2 separate regions of the Homo sapiens genome follow, and region 2 is linked to region 1. Evidence: promoter capture Hi-C in human tissues and cell types (Jung and others, 2019). All regions are on one chromosome and are shown on one strand. The core of a region is centred on a gene start or on the middle of the fragment in contact, and the rest is flanking DNA. Distances in the headings are between cores, read along the strand shown.

The links. The method cuts DNA at HindIII sites, captures the fragments that hold promoters and counts their contacts. A contact is called where the count stands out against the background at its distance.
Region 2: a fragment that was not itself captured here is called in contact with the fragment with the promoter of PRR22 in region 1 in 1 of the 25 tissues and cell types used here (dorsolateral prefrontal cortex).

The regions. Positions count from the first base shown.
Region 1 is chr19:5,783,407-5,786,118 of GRCh38, reverse strand. PRR22 (proline rich 22) reads left to right here and starts at 1,373. Exons shown (of 3, transcript NM_001134316.2): 1 at 1,373-1,588; 2 at 1,680-1,742; 3 at 2,066-2,712. The coding sequence starts at 1,459. It overlaps DUS3L (dihydrouridine synthase 3 like), which reads left to right. Exons shown (of 13, transcript NM_020175.3): 11 at 328-516; 12 at 608-736; 13 at 844-979. The coding sequence ends at 916. The HindIII fragment of the contact is 36,623 bases long and covers 1-2,712 here.
Region 2 is chr19:5,309,361-5,312,072 of GRCh38, reverse strand. All of the region lies in intron 1 of PTPRS (protein tyrosine phosphatase receptor type S), which reads left to right. Among named protein-coding and RNA genes, the nearest start is that of PTPRS, 30 kb to the left of the region's middle. The HindIII fragment of the contact is 5,079 bases long and covers 1-2,712 here.

The DNA of each region.
Region 1 (2,712 bases), core at 124-2,623:
TTAGCCAGGTGTAGTGGTACACGCCTGTAATCCCAACTACTAGGGAGGCTGAGGCAGGACAATTGCCTGAACCTGGGAGACGGAGGTTGAACAGTGAGCCGAGATCTTACCACTGCACCCCAGCCTGGGCGACAGAGCCAGACTCCGTCTCAGAAAAAACAAAAGAAAGTCCTGTGCTTTGAAGGTTGTGTGCATGCAGCTGGGAGGCTTACTAGGCTTGTAGGTTTTGTGGTCTGGGCTCCGGCTCAGGCCAGGCCATGGAAGCAGAGGCCACACGATCCCAGGCAGGCTGGTGGCTGGGCCCACTGATCGTCACCCGTCCCACAGTGGCGCCCTGCTCAAGCCGTGGCTCTTCACGGAGATCAAGGAGCAGCGGCACTGGGACATCTCGTCGTCCGAGCGCCTGGACATCCTGCGGGACTTCACCAACTACGGCCTGGAGCACTGGGGCTCGGACACGCAGGGCGTGGAGAAGACCCGGCGCTTTCTGCTCGAGTGGCTGTCCTTCCTGTGCCGGTGGGCACCGGGGCTGGCTGGGGTGGGCGGCGCGTGGGCCGCGGCTGGTTAGAGCTGACTCAAGCCTGTCCTGCCCGCCCACCCGCCGCAGGTACGTGCCCGTGGGGCTGCTGGAGCGGCTCCCACAGAGGATCAACGAGCGGCCGCCCTACTACCTGGGCCGCGACTACCTGGAGACGCTGATGGCCAGCCAGAAGGCAGCCGACTGGATCCGCATCAGGTGCCTGGGTGGGCTGGAGTTGGGGAGCTGCAGTCGGGGGCCCGGGGTCACGGAGGGTACTTTGCAGGTCCTGGGCCTGACCTCGCTTTCCACCTGCTCTCCCACAGCGAGATGCTCCTTGGGCCAGTGCCCCCCAGCTTCGCCTTCTTGCCGAAGCACAAGGCCAACGCGTACAAGTAGCCTCAGGCTTTCCCAGGGGCACCCTGGGGCGAGGAGAGTACAATAAATTTTATTCTTTTAAAATCCAGGCCTTTCTGTGACCCTGAAGCAGCCCCTCCTCGGCCCCCACCTTCCCCAAACCTCTTAGCTGCCTCCATGGGCCCTGCCCCAAGCTGGGTGCTGCTGGTGCCCAGAGAGGCCTTGACCCCCAAGAAGGTAGCGGGTTGAGGACCCGGGGGGCCTCAGCCTGTGTGGGTGTGGATCAGGGCAGCCTGCCTGGAGGAGGCGGCCTCAAAGCTGTTAGGGGGGTGTTGCTGGAAGAGGCAAAGGCCTGGCCCAGAATCCTCCCTCCCATGGTGATGACCATGTCTGCCAACGTCTGCCCCTGCTTGCCCCCAACACCCAGAACCCCAACCAGTGGGCGCGCTGCAGGCTGGAACCCGCTGCCCCGAGTAACCAGGCAAACAGAACCCCACCAGGTTCTCAGCCTGTTCTCCGGTTGGGCCACTTGCACTCCCACTGCCGCCCTCCTGGCCTGTCTGGACCGGGCCCCCCGCTGCCCCATGCAGCACCCCAAACCGTTCTGTGCCCCTGCAGCTCCCCAGGAAGGTTTCAGCCCGCAGAGTCTGGAGGGGGCTGAGGTGCTGGGCAACCAGCCTGCTCCCACCTGTGCCGAGCCTCCTCCCGCTATGGGTACGATCGGGTGGGTGGGAGCACCTGCTGGAGAGGGTTCAGGGGCCCACCCGCCTAAGGGCCCTACCCACCTGGGCACCTTTGTCCACAGGCTCCTTGAACCTGTATCATCCCCCAGACCCAGAGAAAGAGGTGTTTCCAGCCCCACCAGCAGGTACCGGCCTCCCCTGAGCCCTTGACGAGGCTGGGAGTGGGTTTGAGTGTGCAGGCCCATCTTGCCCCTGCCCCGTCCCTAAGTGGGAGCCTGAAGGCATGGCCTCTGCTCCCCATGCTTCACACAGGTCCCCCAGATGAGCCCCAAAGACAAGCTCTGTGTCATCCATCACCCAGCCAGGGCCCCAAAGCAATATCTATGTCGTCCCCCAAAGGGGCCCCCCAATGGCAAGGTTCTTGTGGCATCTCCCAAACAGGCCCCCAGGCTTGGGCTGGGCCCCTCAGGCAGCAGCTGCTCTCAGGGCACCCGCCTGCCGCCCACAGGTTTCCAGATGGCCCCATGCGGGTGCTTCTTCGACCCCCGCATCTATCGGATCGAGTGGACCACCCCCGACCTGGGCCAGTCAGCCCTGTATAAGCTGGCAGCAAGCAGCGGGGGGCCAGCGGGGGTCCCCTCCGCCCCAGGCAGCTACCTCCTGGAGCCTCAGCCCTACCTCAAGGCCCCGGGGCTGCCTCCATACCCCCACTACCAGCAGGCACCCGGGGGGCCCCAGTTTCTCTTGCCCTACTTCCCGCCTGAGGGCCCCGGGCCAGAGGCTCTGGGTTTTGTGGGGGACGCAGGGCCCGCCGCCTTCGTGGAGCTGCCCCTACCGCCCCTAGAGGAAGGCCCGGCCCCGCTGCCACCCCCACCCCCCAAGGAGAACAAGCCGCCCCCTGTACTCATCACGCTGCCTGCAGAGCCCACACTGCCCCCAGACGCCTACAGCCACCTCCAGGGTCACCTCGGCCACTTCCCTGGGCCCGAACCCCTGGCCTTCCCCGTCAAGGAGCTGCAGGGCAGTGGGGCCCGACCTGGGGTGCCCCTGTACCCACCGGGCCTCAGCGAGCTCAAGGTGGCCGAGGTCAAGGAGGGGGCCCTGCTGGGAGCAGGCAAGGCCAAGGCCCCCAAGACGGCCAGAGCTTTGGCACTG
Region 2 (2,712 bases), core at 71-2,570, 470 kb after region 1:
GGATGCGTATTTCTTTCTTTTTTTTTTTTTTGAGACGGAGTCTCGCTGTGTCTCCCAGGCTGGAATGCAGTGGCGCACGATCTCGGCTCACTGCAAGCTCCGCCTCCCGGGTTCACGCCATTCTCCTGCCTCAGCCTCCCCAGTAGCTGGGACTACAGGTGCCTGCCACCCCGCCCGGCTAATTTTTTGTATTTTTAGTAGAGACGGGGTTTCACCATGTTAGCCAGGATGGTCTCGATCTCCTGACCTCGTGATCCACCCACCTCAGCCTCCCAAAGTGCTGGGATTACAGGCGTGAGCCACCGCACCCGGCCCAAGGGATGCACATTTCAATATTCACTCCCTCTCGCCCAGTTACCCTGCAGAGAGCATCTGCCATCTCCACCCCAGCCGCCAGCCAGGGAGCTCGGGTCTCCCCTGAACAGCTTTGATGAGACAGGAATGTTCTTTTTCTTTCCTTGGCTGCTCCCAAGATACTTATATCCCCACCCCCAGCCTCCACCCAGGGGATGGTTTCAGGTCTAAAATTTTCCTTCAGACCCCAAGGAAAGCTTCTGTGTGTTCAGAAAACAACCGTCGTGTCCTTTCTGGGCCCAGGACCCTGCTGGGGGCCTAGAGCTCCATCACTGGATACTTATTGAGCACCTCCTATATACCAGGCCCTGATCCTCACAGGGTCAGGTGTTGGGAACAGAGTGACGGAGAAGACAGAGGGAAAAACCCTTCCCTCGTGGAATGCATCAGAAGGACAATGAACAAATAGGGGCCGGGCGCAGTGGCTCAGCCTATAATCCCAGCACTTTAGGAGGCCAAGACGGGCAGATCGCCTGAGGTCAGGAGTTCGAGACCAGCCTGGCCAACATGGTGAAATCTCATCTCTACTAAAAATACAAAAGGCTGGGCACAGTGGCTCATGCCTGTAATCCCAGCACTTCGGGAGGCCGAGTCAGGTGGATCACGAGGTCAGGAGATCGAGACCATCCTGGCCAACAGGGTAAAACCCCGTCTCTACTTAAATAAAAAAAATTAGCTGGGCGTGGTGGCATGCACCTATAGTCCCAGCTACTCGGGAGGCTGAGGCAGGGGAATCGCTTGAACCAGGGAGGCAGAGGTTGCAGTGAGATCACGCCACTGCACGCCAGTCTGGAGACAAAGTGAGACTTGGTTTCATAATAATAATAATAAATAAAAATACAAAAATTAGCCGGGTGTGGTGGTACAAGCCTATAGTCCCAGCTACTCAGGAGGCTGAGGTGGGAGGATCACTTGAGCTGAGGAGTTCAAGGCTGCAGTGAGCTGAGATTGCGTCACTGCACTCCAGCCTGGGTGACAGAGTGAGACCCTGCCTCAAAAAACAAAAACAAGAAACACCCAAAAAACAAAAGCCATAAAGCCAATAGATTAAATATGTGTTAAGGATTGACTGTATGCCATGCCTTTAAGAAAAATAAAGTTGGCCAGGCGCAGTGGCTCATGCCTGCAATTTTAGCACTTTGGGAGGCCGAGGTGGGCAGATCACTTGAGGTCAGGAGTTTGAAACCAGCCTGGCCAACATGGTGAAACCCTGTCTCTACTAAAAATACAAAAATTAGCTGGGTATGGTGGTGGGCGCCTGTAATCCCAGCTACTCGGTAGGCTGAGGCAGGAGAATTGCTTGAACGGGGGAAGCGGAGGTTGTAGTGAGCCGAGATTGCGCCACTGCAGTCCAGCCTGGGTGATAGAGTAAGACTCCATCTCAAAAAAAAAAAAAAAAAGAAAAGAAAAAAGCTAGAGGAATTGGTTGGTGGCAGGGAGGGGCTGTTTTAGCTACAGAATCAAGACAGGCCTCACAGAAGAGGTGACATTTCAGTAAGACCAACAGGAATAAGAGAATGATGTTTGCTGACATCTGAGGGGAGGGTGTTCCAGGCAGAGGGCACAGCCCGTGCAAAGGCCCTGAGGCAGGACCGCACCTGGCATGTTGGAGGAACAGCGAGGAGGCCTGTGTGGCTGGAGCAGAGTGAGGAGGGGGAGGAGGGGAGGGGAGAGCAGGGAGAGGACAGAGCAGGTTGTGCAGGCCCTTGTGGGGCACCAGGAGGACTTGGGCGTTTACTCTGAGGGAGGTGGGAGCCAGGGAGGGCTATGGGCAAAGGAGGAACCAGCCCTGACCGACGTGTTCACAGGCGACCCCTGGCTGTTGCAGAAAGGACAGACTGTGGGGGATGAGTGCAGACGCTGGGGGACCAGAGCAGAGGGGACGGCACAGATCCAGGCCAGGGATGATGGGGGTGGACCAGGCAGGGGCAGAGGAGGGGTTGTATTCTAGAAGGATTTTGCAGAAGGGTTGGCTGGCTTCTCCAAGTGGTTGGCTGCAGGGTAGGGTTGAGATGAGTCAAGAACGACTCCCAGGCCTCTGTCCTGAACATCGGTAAAGACGGAGAAGATGAGCTGAGGTGGCGAAGATGGTGAGAGAGGCAGGCATGGAAACGCCCCCATTAGCAGGACGCCTGCGGAGGTTCCCAGGAAGTGGTGGGCTGGTTCTCCCTGGAGACATGGAGTTGGCAGCTCCTGACTTAGCCCATAGCGGGTTTTCAGGTGCTACAAGCAAGCCATTGGCTCTGGACAAGGCACATCCTATCCTCAGCCTCAGTTTCCCCATCTGAGATAAATAACTGGCACAACAAAACGAGTTAATATGCGTCAAGCACTTAGAGAGTGGCCTGCATAGACAGG